7 separate regions of the Homo sapiens genome follow, and all the other regions are linked to region 3. Evidence: promoter capture Hi-C in 16 types of primary human blood cells and fetal thymus (Javierre and others, 2016). All regions are on one chromosome and are shown on one strand. Each heading gives the region's core, a stretch centred on a gene start or on the middle of the fragment in contact. The rest is flanking DNA. Distances are from core to core; before and after follow the strand shown. Region 1 overlaps VAPA (VAMP associated protein A). Region 2 holds the start of YES1 (YES proto-oncogene 1, Src family tyrosine kinase). Region 3 holds the start of ZBTB14 (zinc finger and BTB domain containing 14). Region 4 has its middle 16 kb from the start of YES1. Region 5 holds the start of ANKRD12 (ankyrin repeat domain 12). Region 6 overlaps PPP4R1-AS1 (PPP4R1 antisense RNA 1). Region 7 holds the start of RALBP1 (ralA binding protein 1).

Region 1 (3,076 bases), core at 198-2,697, 4.6 Mb after region 3:
TTATACACCTAACAAGCATCTTGAAGATGAATTAACAGTATGTTGCACAATTTTGCAAAAGCAGACACCAACTATTTCAGTACATTTTTCTGTATACCTCAGTATTTAAAAAAAAGTTTGTTTTATACAGTCGTTAACATATAAAAGTGCATTTACGATGTAATGAATTCTGAAGTAGATCACTTGTGTTAGTAAAGAAAAAGAAGTAGACGCTGCTTTACTTCAAATTCTGTTTAAACCTTGGAAGTAATTTTACCTAGATTTCAGATTTGAAACTTGGTATTTTATGTGAAAGATTTTTTTTGTCTTTAAAATTTTTTACATGATAAAATTCCATTTATAATGTATTACACATTTTATTTTTCTACCTATTAGCAGTTTTTTTAAATTTTTTTATTTTTTGAGACGGAGTCTTGCTCTGTTGCAGTGGCTCGATCTCGGCTCATTGCAGTCTCTGCCTCCCGGGTTCAAGCAATTCTCCTGCCTCAGTCTCCAGAGTAGCTGGAACTACAGGCATGCACTACCATGCCCAGCTAATTTTGAATTTTTTGTAGAGACGGGATTTTGCCAGGCTGGCCTCGAACTTCTGACCTCAGGTGATCCGCCTGCCTTGGCCTCCCAAAGTGCTGGGATTACAGGCGTGAGCCACCGCACCTGACCCCTATTAGCAGTTTTGTAGAAAAGTTTGAAGAAGAAAGTTTATAAAATGCTAAAATAAATTTCAAATATATTCTTAATGATCAGAGAGAGACGAAAATAAACCAAAATCCTTATGTTGAGAGTGGCCGATAACAATAAATCAACAAAGAAAATTAAGCTCTCTGAGGGATCGAGGGACGTATGGTGTTAACATCAGCTAGTGCATCTGCATAGAAGCAGCACGGGGCGGGGGGGAAATTAGAGAATACTCCTCTGGATGGATATTTAGCACATTTTTAGGTGTTTCCAGTCGGCTCTTCATGTTTCCCAGTGGCTATACAAAACGCCTGGGGCTCTAAAGACATGAATGTAATCTTTAATCATATATTACTCCATTCCTTAGTTTTTAGGTAACTCTCAATTGCTCACAGAATAAAAGTCAGATTTTTTTTTTTCAGTAAGACATACCATCTCTTCCATGATGTGCCTTCCTCTTGTAACACCTGTTAGTCTGTACACATCCATACTTTCTTCCCTGAGAAAGAAAAACCCTGCTCATACCCAAGGTTCTTTGTTCCTCTATTTTTGCTGGCTAAGGTAAAATTCCTTATGACTCAGACCATGTTCCATGAGATGTTTTCCTGCTGGTTTTCAATCACTGGCTGCATTGTTTTAACATATAAATACACCAGAGTCTTTGATTTTAAAAACAAATGAGCAGACATGTACTTCTTTGACCATAACTCTTTCTAGTATGTGTCTCTCCCTGTCCTTCATTTCCTTTGCATTCAGACTTTTTGGAAAAATAGTCCATATTCACTGTTTTTCCAGTTACTCACCTTTTATTCTCTCCTTAGTCCACGGTACTTTTATCCTCTCACTACTTATTGCTAACTTAATCATTTCCAGTTTTTATCTTACTTGACCTCCCCCTGGCTCTTGACAGTACCGACAGTTTCTCTAAAAAAAACCCTCAATTCTTCTGGCTTCTATAACAGCATTGTCTTCTAATTTTCTTATTTGCTCCATTTATTGTCTTATTTGTGGCATTTTCCTCAAATGCTCATGTTTCTGAGATTCTGATTTGGTTTCATTTATCTCACTCTGTGAACTTTCTTTGTTCATTTCATTGTTTTGAGGTTTTCTCTTTATCTTCCTTGCTCTCTGCAGGTATTGCTACACCCCCAAGTCTGTTTTAATTCACATTTTACCGTCAGTCAAGAGCACATACTCAAACAACTTATTCACTATTTAGATTTGAATATTGCACAGATATGATATTCTAAACTCAAAATATCTCAAAATTTTTACTACCCATGCCTACTCTTCTTCCCATATTTTTTATTTTTATTTTTGAGATGGGGTCTTGCTCAGTTGCTCAACCTGGAGTGCAGTGGCATGCACGTTCTTGGCTCACTGCAGCCGTGACCTCCTGGGCTCAAGTGATCCTCCTGAATAGCTAGGACTATAGGTGCATGCTACCATGCCCAGCTAATTTTTTACGTACATATGGGGGTGCCGCTGTGTTGCCCAGGCTGATCTCGAACTCCTGACCTTGCGTGATCCTCCTGCCTTGGCCTCCTAAAGTGCTGGGATTACAGGCCTGAGCCATTGCACTTGGCTTTATTTTTATTTTTTAGTGGCATCATGATTACTCACACCAGAAACAATATGCATATCTAATAATTAAAATCTGTGTTTCTATTTTTGACATAATCCCTTTGTCCACTTCAATGTGTTTCTACTTCCAAATTCATTTATTTTTAAAATTCATTCAATTATGGATCTAATTTGATTAGATTTGAGTATCTGCTACATGTCAGGTATGATGAATAAATATTGGAACTACAGTTGTGAGTGAAACACAAGCCATGTTTTCATGGGGCAGTTCTAACAAGAGAGATAGATACTAATAAAATAATCAGAAGAATAAAGTGTACCCCTGAAGAGCTATATAGTGCTACGAGAATGTAAAATAAGGGTCTTCGATCAGGCTGTCACAGTTGAACTAAGATTCCAACAATGAGTAAAAGTTATCCTGGTGAAGAAGAAAGGAAAATGCATGTTCAAATATCCGGTAGCAGGAGGGACTGTGAAACATTTACCATACTGAAAGAGGTCGGCGTGGCAGTGGTGAAAATAGTCAAGATGAATGTAGTGCTGGTTTAGTAGGTCAAGTTAGGAGTTTTGTTTTTATCCTGAGCCACTAGGGTTTTTAAGTGAGGGGAGGAGCAGTAAAGATGGAGGGAATCGAATAACATCACATTTGCATTTAAAAATAATTCTGGTAGCAATGTAAAATTATACTAGAGGGGAGAAAGAGATGAATTAGGCGGCTGCAGCAGTACTGGCAAGTGGTGACCCCTTGGACTGAGGTCATGGTATTGGAGGTGATGAAAAGTTAGGTTGAATCTGTGAGACTTGGTGGTCTCTATGT
Region 2 (3,272 bases), core at 74-2,573, 4.5 Mb before region 3:
AATGCTTCCTGTCCACCGTGTGCCAAGCACTGTGATAGTTAAGATATTAGATTTACCATGCACTTTTCCTTAAATGCACAGTCACGTGTATACATTTAGTAATACTTTCCTTAGTGCGTAATTTAACTTTAGAAGTGTAACAGGATGGTTTAAATATTTAAAATTATCAAGGTATCTTTGGCACTGTAATCTTACAGTTATAATACATGAAGATACTATAATCATATCATGTGAAATCGACTGTGAAAACACACACCCGTGGAACGTATATACATAATAAATGGACATAAAATTGTGCTTCCACCAAAGACTTTCATTATTTCCTTTAGTAATTTATAATTATACAGTATGTTATTCCACGCCTGTATCAATTAATTATGCAGAAAATGATTCAACCAAATCCGAACTGTTAAGTCCTACTCATTACAAAACAAAAACTAAAGTCCCTACACCAGACTTGATTTTCAAAGAGCTTCTTAAAACAGCTCTGCCCCATGCCCAATAAAGTGAAAGCTGGAAGCAATTATCAAGAAGAAAAACACACTTTAAGACAATTTTCTTTAACACATGTGGACAGGGAACCGAACGCAACGGGAGGCGGAGTGGCATGATTCCGTAAAAGTGGACGCTGAATGGTAAATTTCCCAACCCCCAACCCAAAACAAAGGAAAACTTTAAACATGTTGCGGTTTTCAATCAAACCAAGTAAAGCCAGAAAGGCTCATCCACTCGCCCCACACACCCGCTCCTCTCCCCGCACAGCTGCTACCGGCGTCGGCCGATACACAGACCCCCAGCCTTTAGGACCCAAAGGGGCCGCTTCCCTCGCCCCTACTTCGGCCGTAGGGGCAAAAATAAACCTCTCCTCCCCGTCGCCGGGCGGTCCACACGACCCCAAAGACAAGGGGTGGGGAGTGTCCCCACGCCCCTGGAACCTCAGGTCGGACTTGGGCGGGACCCGGCAGGTCTGGACAGGGCAGAGACCGAGTCAGGGGCGAGCAGGTAGCGCGGGGAACGAGACAAGCCCGCCGGGCGATCCGGGGGAGGGGAGAAGTTTCTTCCCAACTTCCCGACTCGGGCCCGCGGGGGCGGGGAACCGCGGCGGCGGCGGCGGCGGCGGCTCCGGGCGCTGGGGCCTAGCCCTGTCCGGGCAGAGGTGGAACCCTCCGCCCGCGGGGCCCCACCGGGTCCTTACCTGTCCTCCGGCCGCGCTCTCATGAGTCGCTGCTACCGCAGCTCGAGGTGGCGGAGGGCGGAGGCGAGGCCCGCGGGCCCTCTCCCTCCTCCACCTCCTCGTCCCGGGGCGCCCGGCGGCAGCAACGACGGCAGAGCCGGCCCGGGACGCGTTACTTCAGGAGGAGGGAGTTCCCGGGCTCCCCACGCCTCGGCCTCACTCTCCACCTCCTCCGCCCCCCCCCCCCGGCCCCGCCCCCTGACTTCTAGCGGGGGCGGGGGCTGCGGGTACCTGCGCGCGCCGCCGTCCGCTCACCGGAACTCGGGCCACGCCGGCCCGGCTCCGGGGCCCCCAGCCTTCCGGCGCCTACGCCCCCGTCAGGTCCCCTCCGCGGGCTCCGGGCCGCTTTGCTGTGGTCAGGATAGGCGACCGGTCCGTGTCACTTCTCCCGACCCAACATGGCGGCGGGGTCCGGGGCGGATTCCCGGGGGCGGTGCAGGCCGAGGGGGCGTGAGGAGGAGGTGCTTCCCTGCCCGGAGAGCAGGCCCGCGGCGTCCCTTCCCACCCGCGAACCCACCGACGCTCGGCTGCCGCGGAGATTGAATGGAGCGCTCCGATTCTGCCCCTCTGCCTTTCTCTGTTCCTTGGCCCAGCTCTCAGTAGTGGCCAGGGCTTTGGGGCTTGCTTTTGTGGGGGAGGACGGGGTTGAGTTTTTTTGGTTGGCTGTTTGCTTCTCAGCGCTACGCTTCCGCACCCTTTGTCGTTGGTAGTAAAATCTCAAGCCCAACCGCGTGAGCCGGGGGCGTTACTCACACCCTCATCACCATCCTGATCGCCGTCCAAAAAACGTTCACGTCTTGCCTCCTTCCGAGGCAGGGATCCTGTCCCTGCCCCCAGGAGCTTCCTGTTGACTGTAGGTCGAACCAGCCTTGCCGGGAGGGGAACCGAAGCTGAGTTCTGTTTGGCGACTATCCCAGTCATGGTGGCTTTGGCTTATGTTGGGACAGCGTTTTTCTATATGATGCTGGCGGCAGCCCAGTGAGGGAAGTGCAACAAGTATGGTTCTCCTGCTTGTCAACTGTGGAAACAGCGACCCTGAAAGTGGAGGAGCCACAGCTGGAATCGTGTCCGTCTGAATACACGCACCTTTCCTATGAGCCTTGTAAAGCCAGTCGTTGAAGAAGGGGGAGGACCCGGAAGGATGGGGTGGGGGCGTAAAGATGAAGGTTAATCAAGGTCCTCATGGACTGAACCTTGAGGCCCTTCTGCTGCAGTCACTTTTGCCCTATCAGACTTTTAGAGTAACTTCCTCTCTTTATTTCCTCTTTGGTGGGGTTATCAGAATTATTTTGTGACTATTGGTTTCCTTTGCGGTTTTTAGTGAAATTCAGAATCATCTTCGACGGATAGGAAATAGTGCAATCATATGTGTCAGTATTCCGGTATTCTAGGAACTTAAGGAAATGCATATAAGGGTTTGAACATTTTTTTCTTCAGCTCACTAAATGAACGAAAGGTAGGCGTAGGCGTTAAAGAGACACATAATGTGGAACGATGCTGTATTTTCTTAGCTACTAAAACTTCATTTGTCATTGACTGTCTCAGGGCTTTAAAATTTTATGTAGGTCTATATTCAGCTTTTATTAAAATAGAAAATTCCTTGAGCTGTTGCCTTTCTTCACTAAATAGAGATAATTTCGTCTTCCTAAACACTCAGTCTCAAAAATCACCTCTAAAATAGGCCGGGCACAGTGGCTCACACGTGTAACCCCAGCATTCTGGGAGTCCAAGACAGGAGGATCACTTGAGTCTAGGAGTTGGAGACCAGCCTGGGCAACATGGGAGACCTCCTATCTATTTAGTAAAATATATTTTAAAAAATAATAATGAAATGAAATAGTAGTTTGCCCCAGTTTAAGGGGTAAGGTGGCTTTGAAGATGTTCTATATGGAGTTTTAAAGTTGGGAGAGTATGTCAGAATGTCACCTACAAGTTATGGATTACATTGACTTACTGAGTTTGCTTCTCTTCGCCCTCCCTTTTTTTTTTTATTACTACATTCCCTGATTTCTTTTTTAGTATATTCATCAATGTCAAA
Region 3 (3,154 bases), core at 244-2,743:
AACATTTCCAAAAGATGATTCTGACTTGATCATTCTACGTGTTTCTGCCTCTCTATTCCCTAGAAGCACCCAGGCCTGTAATCATCCAGAGGCTAGGCAGCCCAGCAAAAACCTTACACTGTGACACTTACTACTGTTGTCACTAACTCGTCCTAGGGCTTGTGGGATAAAAGTGCATGGGACCAGAGAGAGGAGTGGCCTTAGACTAGCTATGACAACATATCAATGTGTTGTTGTTGTTTTGGCTAGTGTGTACTTGGCCACTCGCCCCTCTCCCCTCTCTCTCTCAAGATGTATGAGACCTGGAAGAGAGACCATGTGTGTCCAAAGCCGCCTCCTCCCCGCCCCGCCCCCCTTGCCATTGAGATGTCCAATTGCTCAGTTCAGGTGAGTCAAAACTGGAAGACAGCTGTTGCCAGCATCTGTGTAGGCAGGTGTAGGAAAAGACGTAGCCCCAACACCACCTTCATAATAAGGCTGCCCCTTCCTAATTGCTCTCCAAACTGCGGGCGCGCTAAGCCGCGTTACAGTGCAGGGAGCCGGGCTTCCCGCAAAGCCAAAAACTTACATAAGCAGCTGCAGCCGCCTCCCCTGCCCCGGGCAGCCCGACAATGGCGGCTGCACGACTTCCTTGTTGCAAGCTTGCAACTTCGGAGTCGGGAGGAAGCAGGGAGCCAAGCGCAGACCCAAGAAGCCCTCAAGGCGTATCGAGTCCTCCCTCTCAATTTCTTTGGGCCTGGGAGGTGGGGAGTGGAGGAGGCCGTTTGCACTCCTTCCCAGACAAAAGCTCCCAGCCTGGGAGCCAGGTGGTGAAAGGGCCACTTTCCCTTTCATAATCAGACGTCGAGCGCAGGCTTGGGACCGCGGCTCGGAGCGCGCAGGGAGGGACTGCGGCCCGCGGCGGCCCCGGCGGCGCGACGAGCGGGAGCGGGCGTGCGGCCGGCTCCGCAGCCCCGCGCCGCGCCGCGCCCCGCTCCGCCCGCGAGCCCGGAGCTCGCGCCCCGCGCACTCCCCGGCCAGCTCGCGCCGGGCCCTCCCCCGCCCTCCCGCGGCCGGGGGCGGGGGCGGCGCGCGGCCGGCTAACCCAAGCTCCGCGGGCGCACCCGGGAGTGCGTGCGCTGGGTCCCGGCCCCCTCCTCCGCCGGCGGCTGTAGGCGGCGCGGCGGGGCCCGCGGCTCGGAGGGGCGGCGCCCGGCGGGCCGCGCTCCGCGCTGGGTTCGGGCCGTCCCCACCCCCACCGCGGTGCACTGCGGCGGTGCGAGCGGGGGCGGCCATGAACTCGGCCGCCGAGGCTCTGCGAGCGCGCGCGCGGGGCCGCCGCCGCCTGGCCGCTCCCCGAGCCCGCTCGCCGGCCCGCGCGGCCCCCGGGGCGCCCCGGCCCCACGCCCAACCCTGGCCCACGCCCGTCCCCGCTCGCACCGCGCCGCGCCGCTGGCGGCCGCCGCACATCCTGGAGCTGGCTGGTGCCCCAGAGCTCGGCGAGAACGCGCGTCTTCCGGGCCGCCCCGCCAGCCGCCGGCCGCCCCCGCGCCCGCCTTGCGGACGGCCCCAGCCCCTTCCGCACCCTGGCCCGCGCTTACCTGCAGCCTGGCACAGGCACAGACACTGCCGTGGGTTCCCCGCGCTCGCTAGCAAACGCAGGCCGGGACCGGAGGGGCTCGGGGCGCGGGGGCACGGTGGGTGGCAGTGTGTTTTGGATTTTTTTTTGGAGTTTGGGGAGGGGGCGGGGTGGGGGAAATCGTGCACGTCCCTGATGGTAGCAGCCCTCCTCCTGCACGAGCACAGAATGTCTAGCCGGCCGTGAACACCCCCACCGCCCCCCCCTTCCCGTGCATGCGCGGTGCGGGCTGGGGGGAAGGCGCGCCGCCGGCTTGCGCAGGCACGGAACCCGACCGGGTCTCTAAGTGGGCGAGCAAAGAAAGGGTTAATCCGGGCCCTTGCCGACGCTTTCGTTGGAGACTACGGGGCCGCCCCCGGAGGGCCCTGGCCTGCGCACGCGCGCGCACGCGCGCGGCTTGGGGCGCGCGGAGCCCGCGCGCGGGAGAAGGAGTGGGCGGGGCAAGGGCGGGGCTTCGGGAGCCAGGGAACTTAAGCACGAGCGCTGCTCGCGGACACCCGCCCCGCCTCAAGCTCCCTCCCGCCCTGGTTCGTGGGCTTCCGCCCGCGCCCGGCGCCGGCGCAGCGCCGGGGACGCGGGAGCCAGCGCTCCCGTGCGTGTGCATGTGCGTGGGCCAGAGCCTCCCCCGGGCGCGCGCAGGCCGGGCGCTGAGGCTGCGGGGCTCTGCCGCGTCTCGGAGCGGGCGCCCCGGCCACTTTCGCCCTCCGCGCACACCGGCCGACACCGGGAGGCGCGCCCACGGGTCTGCGGTCTTGCCTCTTGCCGCCGGCACATTGAGTTTGTGGGGGAGTGGACGGTGCACAATAAACACTTGCAGAACAAATGGAAAAAGCGACGTCTTCGATTTGTAGTGTAAAGCGCAACCCCAGTTGCCCAGCAGAAAGGGATCACCCATAGGGCTTCGGAGCTAGTAGGTCCGCGCCCGGACACTCCAAGGAAAAGTCCAGGGGCTGGAGGCGGCGACCCGTCTGTGGCAGTCCAGACCCTGGACTCGATTCGGAGAGCTCTGATAACTTGGCTCTGTCCTTAACATCCCTGCTCAGCGCCAGTAATGGCTCCGTTGCTGTTGAACCACGTCGCCTTCCCTCTGACGCGGCGGCTGTGCCTGTGTCTGGCGTCGGGAGCTGGGAAGTCCCTCCCGCTCCCGCGTTTTCTGCTCACCGAGATGCAGGAGGCCGGACAGCAATGCCGCGCCGCCTTAGAGTCGCTCATGTTGCTTTACCTCACACGCGAAGTTTCCCCGAAACGCGTAATTTAATATCTAAAGATTAGAGCAGAAGCTTCCTCTTGGGCTTATTGAAGATGACATAAGATAGTGCTTGCAACAGGCACCTAAGTAAACATTTGGGAAATAATATGATGATTGGATGTGTTAATTTTCTAAAGGAAGTTCTATATGGCCTCAGTTGATTTTGTAATGTTAATTGACTTTGGTTTAACGTTCCCCAAGGCGACTTTATACGCATCTTTTTTGATGTTCACAAAAGCACCCAAGTTACGGCTTATATGGAGGAAATAGGATGGAAGAGACCGGTT
Region 4 (3,170 bases), core at 419-2,918, 4.5 Mb before region 3:
CAGAGTCTCACTCCGTCGCCCAGGCTGGAGTGCAATGGCGCGATCTTGGCTCACTGCAACCTCTGCCTCCCAGGTTCAAGCGATTCTCCTGCCTCAGCCTCCTGAGTAGCTGGGATTACAGGCATGTGCCACCACACCCAGCTAATTTTTGTATTTTTAGTAGAAACAGGGTTTCACCATATTGATCAGGCTGGTCTCGAACTCCTGACCTCATGATCTGCCCACCTCAGCCTCCCAAAGTGCTGGGATTACAGGCGTGAGCCACGATGCCGGGCCTCAACCATTTGTTTTTACTCTATTCAGACATGAATGATGAAATGTTACAGAATCCTTATTTCTTCATTCTCCGTTGCTTTTTGGAAATTTTCTCGGGTGAACATTACCTTCTACAGAGTAACAGAACCAGTAGGATGTAATATACATAGAAAGACACTTATGAGAAGGAATTGGTTCACATGATTATGGCAGCTGAGAAGTCCCAGCATCTGTAGGGTGAGTCAACAGCTATAGACCCAGGAGAGCAGGTAGGGTAGGTCCAGGCAGAGTTTGAAGGCCTGAAAACCAGGAAGCCAATGAAGTCAGGGAAAAAGCCAGTGTCTCACACTGAAGGCAGTCGGGAAGATTTCTTTCTTTCTTTCTTTTTCTTTCTTTCTTTCTTTCTTTCTCTTTCTTTCTTTCTTTCTTTCTTTCGTCTCTCTCTCTCTCTTTCTGTCTCTTTCTTTTCTTTCCTTCCTTCCTTCCCTCCCTCCCTCCCTCCTTCCTTCCTTCCTTCCTTCTCTCTCTCTCTCTCTCTGTCTCCCTCTTTTTTTTTTTTTTTTGACTCGTTTTTTCACCCAGGCTTGAGTGCAGTTGCCTGACCTCACTGCAACCTCTGCCTCCCGGGTTCAAGCAAGTCTCCTGCCTCAGACTCCCGAGTAGCTGAGATTACCAGCACGTGCCACCACCCCTGGCTAATTTTGTGTTTTTGGTAGAGATGGGGTTTCACCATGTTGGCCACGCTGGTCTTGAAATCCTGACCTCAGGTGATCTGCCCACCTTGGCCTCCCAAAGTGCTGGGATTACAGGCGTGAGTCACCGCACCTGGCTAATAGGAAATATTAATGCATTTAATAAATACGGCATACCACTACTACTTCTTTGATTTTATCAGATAAATAGTCTTTCCAAATATTGAGTTGTGATACTCCTGCATTGCAGAAACCATTCACTTACATTTCTGTTTTCTCTTTTTTTTGAGGCAGGGTCTCTGTCATCCAGGCTGGAGTGCAGTGGTGTGATCTCGACTCACTGCAGCCTCGACCTCCCAGGCTCAAGCAATCTTCTCACCTCAGCCTCCTGAACAGCTGGAACTACAGGCGCGTGCCACCATGCCTGGCTAATTTTTATATATATATATATACGTATATATATATATATATATATGTATATATATACATATATATATGGATATATATGTGTGTGTGTGTATATATATATATATATATTTTTTTTTTTTTTTTTTTTTTTGTAGAGGAGTGGTTTCTCCATGTTGCCCAGGCTGGTCTTAGACTCCTGGGCTCAAGTGATCTTCAGGCCTTGGCCTCCCAAAGTGTTGGGATTACAGGCATGAGCCACCACGCCCAGCCTCATTTACATTCCTGTCTTCAATTCCTAGTATAGTGCCTGGTATGTAGTAAGCATGTGATAAAAATTTTAAGAATATTTAGGGCCGGGCGCGGTGGCTCACGCCTGTAGTCCCAGCACTTTGGGAGGCCGAGGCGGGTGGATCATGAGGTCAGGAGATCGAGACCATCCTGGCTAACACGGTGAAACCCCGTCTCTACTAAAAATACAAAAAATTAGCCGGGCGCGATGGCGGGCGCCTGTAGTCCCAGCTACTGGGGAGGCTGAGGCAGGAGAATGGCGTGAACCCGGGAGGCGGAGCTTGCAGTGAGCCGAGATTGCGCCACTGCAGTCCGCAGTCCGGCCTGGGCGACAGAGCGAGACTCCGTCTCAAAAAAAAAAAAAAAAAAAAAAAAAGAATATTTAGTATTGTTGTCTCTGAGAAAAACATAAGTTATGTATCTAAATTCTGTAGCCCTATAAGAAAATCTGTGTGTGTGTGTATATATATATTATATATATATATATATTTTTTTTTTTTTTGAGACGAAGTCTGGCTCTGTTGCCCAGGCTGGAATGCAATGGCGTGATCTAGGCTCACCGCAACCTCCACCTCCCGGCTTCAAGCGATTCTCCTGTCTCAGACTCCCGAGTAGCTGGTATTACAGGCATGCACCACCACGCCTGACTAATTTGGTGTTTTTAGTAGAGATGGGGTTTCTCCATGTTGATCAGGCTGATCTCGAACTCCTGATCCCAGGTGATCCACCCGCCTCAGCCTCCCAAAGTGCTGGGATTACAGACATCAGCCACCACGCCTGGCCGAAAATCTGTATATTTTTAATATACAAAGTTTAAGAACAACTAAGTTTTATTTATGCAAAAATGTTTATTTGATTTGAAATGAAACTTTGGAGAAGTTATAATAGCAGAAGTCAAATGTCTTCTTTTCCTTTGTGTTTCTTAATTATGTTGCCTTTTTAACCTTTCATTCTAAAATAGTTTCTATGAACAACTAAACAAGACATGATGGTTGACTCAATCAATAAAATATACAGTATGTTTGCATCATGACATATTTAGATTTCAGTGGCACAAATATAATATTACGTTATGCCAAATAATACTTTATATTTTTCAAATTATTTTATTATCACATTTGATCCGTATAACAATCTTAAAAGATGAATAGGTAGATGTCACTACCCCCATTTTACAGGCGAGGAAACTGAGGAATGAGAAATGCAAACCAGTATGCCAGTCACCAAGTGTCAGATTAATTACTGAGCTAGAGGCCAAACGAGGTGGCTCAAGCCTGTACTTGCAGCACTTTGGGAGGCCGAGGCAGGCGGACTGCTTGAGCTCAAGAGTTTGAGACCAGCTTGGGCAAGAAAAAGAATTAGCAGGGTGTGGTGGTACATGACTGTAGTCCCAGCTGCTTGGGAGGCTGAGGTGAGAGGCTCGCGTGAGCCCGAGAGGTTGAAGCTGCAGTGAGCTGTGATTCTACCACTGCACTCCAGCCTGGGTGACAGAGCAAGACCCTGTCTCAAGGTGATGAAATGATTAGA
Region 5 (3,244 bases), core at 76-2,575, 3.8 Mb after region 3:
TGTCTTTAAGATTTTTTTTTTAATTGAGAGAAGGTAAACAACAGTTAATTTTCCAAGTGGCACAAAAAAGTAACAATGAAAATGTCCTACCCTGGAGCTCTCCTGACTTTCTCATAGGCGACTGTTTTTTTCTTTGTATTTCACATCATAAATAACCAAGTTAAATGTAACACTATTCCACCTCTAGCCATAAGGTGCTCTTTTTCTAGTCTTGTTGACCCTAAAGATTTGTAGGTGGGAGAAATCAGGAACCCAGGAAAGGAAAAACTCCTGATCTTTAATGCAGGTTTATGCTTTACATAGTAATTTGATGGGACCTCGCCGTCCCTGTCAGGTCTGAATGTCACTTCATCTGCTGTGATCACACCTGAACCCTCAGTTCATCAAGACGTTAAAGGACAGTGTAACATAAACTTGTAACTGCATGCACTAAGTCATAAACAGACGCTGTTGTTGCAGATTAACCTCTACGTAAATAACGCGCCCAGAAGGGAGTGAGTACACGCTGCTGCCACGCTGCGACGGTCAATTTTCCTCCGGCACCCTTCCTAGTACCTGAGCAGCTCCCTCTCAAATCCCCAACACTACGTGTGGGAGGGTGCACTGAATTCCTCTTTAAAAAGGCCACTGGAAGGCGTGGCTGGGAGGGGACGCGCTCTAGACCCCCTGGTGCCAGGGCAGGTGCACGCTACCGCGCTTTCGGGGCGGGGCCCAGGGCCCCACCTGAGGCGGGGGGCCGCGGGCTCTGGGCGTAGGTGCAGCTTCTCCGGCCTGGTGCGGGGCCAGACGGCCGCCGCCGGCTTAGCGGGGGAACTTCGCCTAGTCCTCGGGCTGCGGTCGCAGCGTCATTTTGCCTGAGTTGGATCACGCTCGTCCACCCACCCCGTGTAAAAATAACAGGTGAATACCCTATGTGGGGGTCCTCATCGCCGCCATTTCCAGAAGCTTCCAGTCACAGCCACTGCCACGGTCGCCACAAATGCTACTGCAGAGCCCGCTTGCCCAGCAGCGTCACCGGCGCCTGCCCTGCCTCTTCGCCCAGCCTTTGATTCCCCCTCCTTTGTCGGATAGTGTCTGCGGCGGGGAGGCGGTGACACTAGTCCGAGTGGGGCGTGGAGACCGACCAGCACGAAGGGCGGAGTTCCGGCCCGCACCCCTCCGCCGCCTGCCGCTTGGTACGTCCCGCTTCCCCGCCCTGCGGCTCGCGGAGCCTGGCTGAGCAGCAGGAGGGGCGGGCGCCGGGGGGCGGGGCGGTCACGCCGCCCGTCCCGTGCCCGCGGTAGTCACGTGTCCGCGGGTGTCACGTGCTCGCGTCGCAGCCAATCGCGGGGCGACGCTGTCCTGGGAGCGAGGAGGCTGTGGTGAGAGACGGACCGAGACCGGAGATGTTTTCAAGCCCGGCTCCGGCGGCTTTACAGGCGGCTGCAGCGGCGACGAAGACAACGACAGCGACGGCTACGCCGAAGCACTCGTTCCGGGGGTGAAGCCTCCTGCGCCGGCCTTGCCTCGGGTCCGTACGGGTGAGGGGGGCGTGGCGACAGGAAAGGAGGAAGGAGGGGCGCGGTTTCGAGCTTGTCCCCGGCGCCAGGGAGGAGATCCCCTCAGTTCTGCGCTGCTCCCGTTCCCCCTCCCCAGAGCAAGGTAGGGGACGCGCCCTGCCCGCCCCCCCCGGTCCCGACGCGCCGCCCGCCCAGCCTGGCCCGAGCCGTAGCTCGCCTGACAGTGACAGGCCGTTAGTGCCCCCCGGCGCGGGTCCGCCGGGGCCCCGCCCGCCGCCGCCCCTCCCGGCGTCGCGAGGAGCCGCGGCGCAGGTGGGAGCCGCCAACTGGGCGGGGGCGCTGCGCGGGGCGGGGCGGGGGCCGGGCGGAGGGCCGCGAGCTGGCCTCGTCGCGGGCGCCCCTCACCGCGGCTGGCGGGGCTGGGCTGCCGCCGCCTCCCGGAACATGGCGGGGCCGGAGGAGCGTGTGCGTGCGAGTGTGAGTGTGCGCGGCCGAGAGGGCGCCGCTGGCGTGCGGCGGTCGGACCCGCGGGGGCGGGGGCGCGCCCGGCCCGCCGCGCGTTCCCGCCGCCAGCCGCCGAGCGTGCGCCGACGCCGGGGAGTCTGCCGCGGCCGCTCGGGCCGGGAGCGTCGGAGGTACCCGGGTCCTGGGAGAGGTGGATGAAATCAAGAAGGGGAAATTGCTGCTTTAGTAGTGTCCGGGGAAAGAGCAGCCACTCTACAGTTCTGTCTTAAATGCCAGTGTAAAATAACCTTGCCGCATTGGACAGGCAGTTCCCGTCATCGTTTTTCAAGTACCCACTTGTGATGCTTCAAGACCCCTGGAGCACGTCAGGTTCTTAGATCTCGTTTTGAGGAGTGATGTGGAGTGACGCATCCTTACAGATCCCAAAGCGTTGAATAAACGGTTGTACAAAGAGGTATGCGAAGCTTAGCTGACAGCTGTTTTAGTAATAACAGTAAGACGCTGTCTGGGATAGGAAGTTACTGTTGCACTCGTTGAAACCTTAGGAAACATTTAAAGCAGTGTAGTCACCGGGATTGTAATTTCCACTGGACACCCGTGGTTAAACTGCGAACTAAGGTGAAGTGTGTTGCAGATCCAGTGCTGTGTATGTAATGGTTCGGAATTACCTCTAATCCTAAAGTTGAAATGAGCCTGCATCTGCAGTCATGTATTTCGTTTTCATTTTAGAATGGTTTATGTAAATTATAAAGAAAGGCTAGTGAAATAGCTATTTTATCGTAAATTAACTGTGTATTAAAAACATATGCACAGCCGGGCGCGGTGGCTCATGCCTATAATCCCAGCACTTTGGGAGGCCGACGTGGGTAGATCACCTGAGGTCAGGAGTTCGAGACCAGCCTGACCAATATAGTGAAACCCCCGTCTCTACTAAATATACAAAATTAGCCAGGCGTGGTGGCGCATGTCTGTAATCCCAGCTACTTGGGAAGCCGAGGCAGGGGAATCGCTTGAACCCGGGCGGCAGAGGTTGCAGTGAGCCGAGATCGTGCCACTGCACTCCAGCCTGGGCCACAAGAGCGAAACTCCGTCGCAAAAACATACCAAAACAAACAAACAAACAAACAAAAAAACATATGCTCAAGTAGGCCGTTAAAAATCTTGGGCACTGATCTGAGTTTCTTTAATCGTTATACAAAGCCTTTCCTGGAGATTAGCTCAGAACTGGCAGAACATATGCTCTATTGGTGCCAAGTGGCTTAAAAGCAAAATGAGGATAG
Region 6 (3,307 bases), core at 466-2,965, 4.3 Mb after region 3:
CTCACACTGTGCTTAAGAAAGAAGAGAGAAAGAAAGAAGGGGAGGGAGGGAGGGAAGGAGGGAGGGAAAGAAAGGAAAAGAAAAGAAAAGAGAAGAAAAGAAAAGAAAAAAGAGAAGAAAAATACCTACAGAACTGAGCTCTATACAGAGTTACCCTGATTCAGGCTGTTCTTTCTACATTTACAGGAGCTGAACACTGCCCCGAGAATGCAACAGAACTTCAGCTCTGTCCCAAGGTCGTCAGCCACAGCTCCAAGTTTCTTAGCATCAGCTTTTTCTGAACAAAATAGTGCATCCTGCTGGAATCACTACTGTAAACTGAGTATAAAGGAAAATAAACCCTCTTTTTCTTATCCACTATGTTCCCTACTCCCGTGCTTTTCCCAGTGCTCCAGGTTAGTAGAGGCAAAAGAATTCCCCACTGATGAGGTACTACATCCTACACAATTTGTTCCACACATTTTAATTTCATTAAGAGAAAACAAAGATGTTTAAACAGTGAGCACTAAATGGATTAGAGTGGCAGTAGTAAATTTCCTTTGTGCCTTTCTCTTAGAATTTAGAAAGCTTTAGTTGCAATCCCATTCAAAGCAATATGGGAGAGGCTTCCACAATGCCTGGCACAGAGTACGTGTGGAGGAAATGCTTATCATTTTAGATGCTTATTATTTTAAATGTTTAAATGTTTATTATTCTGAATCTGAATGGATGAGTCAAGTTGAACCAGGAAATAAACCATAGCAAACCACATATTCAAACCCAGATAAGTTCAGTGGTTAACTGCCCTGACTCTAAGCTCCCTTCACACTAAGGCTGCTCTATGGTAATATGATTCAGAAGAAATTACTTCCATTCTCATTTCACTTCTCTGTAACTGTTTGTAACAAATTGCTTGTGTCTCTGGTCCTTGGTTCCTTCCTTTGGTGGGAAAAATATTAGCACAATGACACAATATAATTCCCAGACTAGATAGCTAATACATTTTCTAACTTTTTATTTAGAAACAATTACAGATTTACATGAAGTTTCAAATGATGTGCCAGGATGTCCTATGTCACTTTCACATCAGTTCCCCCAATGGTAATATTACCGTATATATGAAACATTTTTCAGAGCGTGTGCCAGGCATCATGTTAAGCGCTTTTTCTTTTTTTTTCTTTTTTTCTTTTTTTTTTTTTTTTCTGAGATGGAATCTCGCTCCATCACCCAGGCTGGAGTGCAGTTGCACAATCTCAGCTTGCTGCAATCTCAGCTTGCTGCAACCTCCGCCTCCCGGGTACAAGCGATTCTCCTGTCTCAGCCTCCTGAGTAGCTGGGACTACAGGCGCCCACCACCATACTCAGCTAATTTTTGTATATATATATATATATTTTTTTTTTTTTTTTGTACAGACGGGGTTTCACCATGTTGGCCAGGCTGGTCTCAAACTCCTGACCTCAAGTGATCCACCTGCCTCGGCCCCCCAAAGTGGTGGGATTACAGGTGTGAGCCACCGCGTCCAGCCTGTTAAGCACTTTTATGTGCTTTCTGATTATTTAAAACAGCCCTGTGAAGTAGAAATTGATATTACCATTTTAAAAATAAAGGAAATCGAAGCTCAGAAAGGTTGGGTATTTTGACAAAGATCAAAAAGCAAATGACCTGGCACAGTGGCTCACACCTGTAATCCCAGCACTTTGGGAGGCCGAGGTGGGTGGATCATTTGAGGCCAGGGGTTCGAGACCAGCCTGGCCAACATGGTGAAACCCTGTCTCTACTAAAAATACAAAAGTTAGCTGGGTGTGGTGGCACATGCCTGTAATCCCAGCTACTCGGGAGGCTGAGGCATTAGAATCTCTTGAACCCAGGAGGTGGAGTTTGCAGTGAGCCGAGATCACACCACTGCACTCTGGCCTGGGTGACAGAGTGAGACTGTCTCAAAAAAAAAAAAAAAAAAGAAAAGAAAGAAAGCAAGCAAGCAAGCAAATAGGGGAATTAGTATTCAAACACTGGAATCCTGATTCTAAATAATGGCAATAGCGTTTGCGTATCCTCACATTCATAGCTTTTCTGTCAAAATGGTCCTTCGTCAACTTCTTTCGCATTAAGAGAACTTCTAGTCTTTCAACATGTATGGTCTTGGTATAATCTCTAATTCCATCTAAGTTATCACTGTTCCCTGAGGATTTTGTCATTGAAACATTTTAGGAGTCACCTCTTCACTCCGTTTCTCACTCAATATCCTGACCAAGATATTAACCACTTCAAAACCATACTAATAACTTTTTAACTAGCCTGTTTCAATTATTCTGGCCAAGTATACAAAAATTATCTTTCTCATATAATATTTTGTTCATCACAATTCTGTGAAATTCCCAAGCAAGTGCCTTAACAGTGTCCTCTCACCAGCTGCCCTTGGCTTGAATGGCTGCAGTTTGCCACCATTTCATTATTCGGACAAATCATCCAGGTAGACAATCTTGAACTCAGGTGCCAACTCACTTCTCCCTCAAACGATGTTCTTGGTTTTTTAGGAGGTTTTGTTGTTGCTGCTGCTTGTAGGTATGTGGCAGGTGTTGGGAGGGGTGGAATTCTACATATTTTTTTTTTTTTGAGATGCGGTCTCACTTTGTTGCCCAGGCTAGTCTTGAACTGCTGGGTTCAAGCAATCCTCCCACTTTGGCCTCCCAAAGAGCTGGGATTACAGGTGTGAACCACCATGGCCGGCCGGAATTCTACATCTTTGTAACATTTATTCTTTTCTGAATTTTCCAATTACAAAAATACATGTTTTTGGAGTGCCCAGAAAAGTATAAAGAAAAAACTAAAATCTCCAAAAATTTAGAGATAATACCCCCAAACAGTTTATGTTTACCTATTTTTTAAAGCTTTCAAAGTCCTATATTTAAAAAAGTTTAGCCTAGGCCGGGCGCGGTGGCTCACGCCTGTAATCCCAGCACTTTGGGAGGCTGAGGTGGGCGGATCACGAGGTCAGGAGATTGAAACCACCCTGGCTAACATGGTGAAACCCCGTCTCTACTAAAAATGCAAAAAATTAGCCGGGCGTGATGGCGGGCGCCTGTAGTCCCAGCTACTCGGGAGGCTGAGGCAGGAGAATGGCATTAATCTGGGAGGCGAAGCTTGCAGTGAGCCAAGATCGCGCCACTGCACTCCAGCCTGGGCGACAGTGGGAGACTCCGTCTTGGGGGGAAAAAAGAAAAAAAAGTTTAGCCGGGCGTGGTGGCTCATGCCTGTAATCCCAGCACTTTGGGAGGCTGAGGAGGGTGGATCACCTAAGGTCAGGAGCTTGAGACCATCCTGACCAAC
Region 7 (3,353 bases), core at 825-3,324, 4.2 Mb after region 3:
CACGTCCATCAGCAATTGCCTCAGTAGAAAACTCCCTCTGCTCCCCTCCTGCATCCACATAGCAGCTTCAGGCAAGGCCTCCATAAGGCCCAGCGTGGATCAGTGCCTGCCCCTTGGCCGAATCAGTGCTGTCACAGGCAGAGAATTGTCACTGCCATGCTCACCTGCCCAACCCAGTGGTCAGAGAAGACTGTTCTACTGCGAGAGGAGCCATGAGAAGGCTTTTCCGAAAGTCAAAGACCAATGGCTACCTCAGACCATCCCGTATCCACTCGTGGGAGGCCCCTGAATGAATCTAAGGCCCCAGGGGTTGAACTTTACTGAGTAGGGAGCGCAGAGTACTAGGGACAAATTTACCGCCCGCTTTGAGGAAAGCTGATGTGGGAGCAGAGAGCAAGATGGATAGCAGCGGCCAATCTAAACGGGCAACGAAGTGCCACAGAGTGCTGCACGTAGGAATGCGAGTGACAGGTAGGGTCGTCTATTCCAAGTCCCTCCTCTCCCCTAATAAACTGCCACATTTCAGAAAACACGAAGACTGCTGAAGCCGTTTCCAGCCTTCGCTACGCATTAGCAGAGCAACTCAACAAGCCTGGGTGAAAGGCTTCTCGAAGAAATTCAGTTATCTCTACTGCCAGCCAAACACGGACTGGGCAGCTTTCCTCGGGGGCTGCTCGGTAACTGCTGAGCCGGGGGCGCGCTGAAGCCCTGCAGAAGCCCACACCCGCTTCAGGAATTCCGTGGATGTTCCCGACAGAGGTTTATTCCCGCCTATCCCTACAGGCCCACGGCGCTCTTTCCTCCAATCCCACACCCAGTCGAAGGCGGGGCAGCCGCCCCACCCAGCGGCCAGCCGGGCGGCCCCCAGTCTGGTTTAACTGGTTGGAACGACTAAAGCACGCTGGCGCAAGGAAAGCTCTCAACTTCGGGAGCTGAGGCGCAGGCTGGCCAGAGCGTGGAGAGGAAAGCCCTTTCCATCCTCAAGGCCGTTGCAGGAGATGCCCGCGAGCCACCTTCGCCAGCACCACACCGGGGTAAGCCGTCCGTCCCCGAAACCCGCAAGGCCACCGACTGCGCAGGCGCCTGCAGAGCACTGGCCCTCGGCGCGTTCTCTCGCGCTCTTCTTCAGTCTCCTCAGCGAGCCTGGGGACGAAGGGGGCGCGGTGCCTCCTGGGTGTTGTAGTTTGCTTCCTTGGCGAGAGGCCTTCGGGCTGGCTGGACGCCGGGGCCTTGGGAACTACGCCTCCCAGCGCGCCCCGCGCGAGAGCCCAGGTCGCCTGCCCTTGACGGCTTCAGCCGTCTGAGCGGAGAGGAGGATCCGGGAAGCCGGCTGCGGCGGGAGGAGGGAATGCGCGTGCGCGCTGGACCGCCTCGTCCCGTTCCGTCCCAATCATTGTAAACAGGCAGAGGCTGGGCGGGGTGGGAATGGGGCGCCCGAGGCCGGCCTGGGGCGCAGCGCAGGAGGCGGCTCCGGTGGCTGCGGCGGCAGCGTGAGCGCGAGGAGGCGGAGGCTGCGGCGGGGCGGACGGTCGCGCGGCGGCAGGCACAGGTCAGTCGCAGGGAGCGGTCGCGTGCTAGGGTCGCGGCGATACCCCTGGAGTGCCCGAGGAACCCTCTCCCGCGCCGGCCTCGCGCCCGCGTCTGTCAGGCAGCGTGTGGGGCTCGGTGCTCGCAGCGCTCGGGTTTGAAGTTGGGGGTGGGGGGCGTGGCTGCCCCTGGCGTGGGTTCCTCCCCGGAAAGCTTCGCCCCAGTTTTCGCCCCCCTTGGCCGTGCGTCCCTCCCACTGGCCGACGGGCCTCCCTTCGTGGCGTCCTCGTTTGTGGTGCTCTCGGGGGCCGGGGGTGGAGAGTTAGGAGTCCCCAGGCCTCGGGGAAGCTCTTGGGGGGCGCCTGGACAGAGGCTAGGGGACCCAGCCCTCACGGTTGGTGGATCGTGCCCGGCATAGTGGCCAGGCTCCAGGGCTTACCCAGGGGACCAGGACAGGCTCCTGGTGTCGCCCACCGCTGGCACTGAGCAGTGGGCGCCTTTGGGTGCTGCGATCCTTCCTTCAGGTTTCAGTGGGAATGGACAGACAGATCTGAAGTTGAAAATTCTTTTCACAACTCATGTTCAACTATGTGTGTTGTCAGAATGCTCTTAATGAGGTCAGTGTTCTCCCTCTTTTTTTTAAAACTGATCGTTGTGAGAGTGAAACAGGTTTTACAGAATATTTAACACCTCCGTCTTCCCTGAAGTAATTCTGCTGTTTCAAGTTTTGGGATTCAGTATTACAAAGCCTTCCTCTTGAGCAAGGCCTAGTACAATTCTTCAAGGTCCCTAGCATGTTAATTCGAGGTGTTTTGAACGTGCATATACAGGAAGTGCAGCCGTTTGGCCGTTGAGTTAGTGCTCCATCCAGCCTTGTTAGAAAAGCTTTCGCTGAATTTTTAATTTAGTGGAGTGGTCATGTTCTAATGCTGCAGTACTTTGGGGAGTATTCCATTATACTTGGCAGTTATTAACGAAATACTGAACTTGTGATAAGGTTTTGTTTTGGTGCTCAGCATTTCTAAATGAATAAGTGGGACTGTGAATAAGAAAGATCACCTCACTTTCTGTTTTTAGAGTTATTGTGGTCATTTGATAACTCCTTTCTGTCTTTGTGAAAATAATTACTGTAAGCTGGAGTGGCGGTAGTAGGGGTAGGAAGGAGGTCAGTAGAGTGGTTTCCACCTCTCATTCAAAGTATCTGGTAGATCCAAGTGGGGTAGGTTAGTTAACAGTAGCTTTTTTTTTTTTTTTTTAGTTTTTTATTTTTTGAGACAGAGTTTCGCTCTTGTTGCCCAGGTTGGAGTGCAATGGCATGATCTCAGCTCACCACAGCCTCTGCCTCCTGGGTTCAAACGATTCTGCTGCCTCAGCCTCCTGAGGGGATTACAGGCATGCGCCATCACGCCCGGCTAATTTTATATTTTTAGTAGAGACATTTTCTCCATGTTGGTCAGGCTGGTCTTGAACTCCCGACCTCAGGTGATCTGCCCGCCTAGGCCTCCCAAAGCGCTGGGATTACAGGCGTGTGCCACCGCGCCCTGCCAACAGTAGTAGCTTTTGAGAAGTGACTCTTTAAACAAGGTATCTCGAAACAATGTAATACAACTTAGTTTGCTTTCTCTTCAGGATATTGTTTCTAATTATGGATCTTATCCAGACTATTTCTCCCCTAATTTAGAATAGGAAAGTGGTATCAGAAAGTGCATAATAACTTTAATTTGTACAGTTATATTTGCATAGTTGTTTGCTTGGCAAGAAGAGATCGGGCCCAGCATGTAACCCAAAAGAATATTGTTTCTGTTTTGAAAGATCCCTGATAGAAA

The links. The method cuts DNA at HindIII sites, captures the fragments that hold promoters and counts their contacts. A CHiCAGO score of 5 or more calls a contact.
Region 1: a fragment that was not itself captured here is called in contact with the fragment with the promoter of ZBTB14 in region 3 in 1 of 17 cell types (naive CD4 T cells); the score reaches 5.2 in naive CD4 T cells.
Region 2: the fragment with the promoter of YES1 here is called in contact with the fragment with the promoter of ZBTB14 in region 3 in 1 of 17 cell types (naive CD8 T cells); the score reaches 6.6 in naive CD8 T cells.
Region 4: a contact is called between a fragment that was not itself captured here and the fragment with the promoter of ZBTB14 in region 3, in 1 of 17 cell types (activated CD4 T cells). The highest score is 5.5, in activated CD4 T cells.
Region 5: a contact is called between the fragment with the promoter of ANKRD12 here and the fragment with the promoter of ZBTB14 in region 3, in 4 of 17 cell types (non-activated CD4 T cells, naive CD4 T cells, total CD8 T cells and 1 more). The highest score is 12.6, in non-activated CD4 T cells.
Region 6: a fragment that was not itself captured here is called in contact with the fragment with the promoter of ZBTB14 in region 3 in 1 of 17 cell types (total CD8 T cells); the score reaches 5.1 in total CD8 T cells.
Region 7: a contact is called between a fragment that was not itself captured here and the fragment with the promoter of ZBTB14 in region 3, in 1 of 17 cell types (non-activated CD4 T cells). The highest score is 5.4, in non-activated CD4 T cells.

What each region holds. Positions count from the first base shown.
Region 1 is chr18:9,916,921-9,919,996 of GRCh38, forward strand. All of the region lies in intron 1 of VAPA (VAMP associated protein A), which reads left to right. Among named protein-coding and RNA genes, the nearest start is that of VAPA, 4.4 kb to the left of the region's middle. The HindIII fragment of the contact is 5,213 bases long and covers 1-3,076 here.
Region 2 is chr18:810,919-814,190 of GRCh38, forward strand. It overlaps YES1 (YES proto-oncogene 1, Src family tyrosine kinase), which reads right to left and starts at 1,324. Exons shown (of 12, transcript NM_005433.4): 1 at 1,196-1,324. RefSeq lists silencers at 931-1,020, 1,091-1,150, 1,201-1,710 and enhancers at 1,442-1,984, 1,985-2,526. The HindIII fragment of the contact is 10,737 bases long and covers 1-3,272 here.
Region 3 is chr18:5,294,233-5,297,386 of GRCh38, forward strand. It overlaps ZBTB14 (zinc finger and BTB domain containing 14), which reads right to left and starts at 1,494. Exons shown (of 4, transcript NM_001243702.2): 1 at 1,420-1,494. RefSeq lists enhancers at 77-764, 765-1,451, 2,140-2,825, 2,543-2,702 and silencers at 893-1,832, 1,913-2,332. The HindIII fragment of the contact is 2,257 bases long and covers 640-2,896 here.
Region 4 is chr18:826,778-829,947 of GRCh38, forward strand. No RefSeq gene overlaps it. Among named protein-coding and RNA genes, the nearest start is that of YES1, 16 kb to the left of the region's middle. The HindIII fragment of the contact is 4,537 bases long and covers 1-3,170 here.
Region 5 is chr18:9,135,456-9,138,699 of GRCh38, forward strand. ANKRD12 (ankyrin repeat domain 12) reads left to right here and starts at 1,326. Exons shown (of 13, transcript NM_015208.5): 1 at 1,326-1,510. NDUFV2-AS1 (NDUFV2 antisense RNA 1) reads right to left here and starts at 1,265. Exons shown (of 3, transcript NR_110772.1): 1 at 909-1,265. RefSeq lists silencers at 428-601, 604-693, 1,044-1,393, 1,604-2,003, 2,044-2,093 and enhancers at 884-933, 1,424-1,473. The HindIII fragment of the contact is 1,483 bases long and covers 944-2,426 here.
Region 6 is chr18:9,619,009-9,622,315 of GRCh38, forward strand. It overlaps PPP4R1-AS1 (PPP4R1 antisense RNA 1), which reads left to right. Exons shown (of 3, transcript NR_110773.1): 3 at 187-355. Among named protein-coding and RNA genes, the nearest start is that of PPP4R1-AS1, 5.9 kb to the left of the region's middle. The HindIII fragment of the contact is 2,301 bases long and covers 566-2,866 here.
Region 7 is chr18:9,474,143-9,477,495 of GRCh38, forward strand. RALBP1 (ralA binding protein 1) reads left to right here and starts at 1,371. Exons shown (of 10, transcript NM_006788.4): 1 at 1,371-1,549. RefSeq lists a silencer at 1,302-1,711 and enhancers at 1,335-2,203, 1,942-2,001. The HindIII fragment of the contact is 672 bases long and covers 1,739-2,410 here.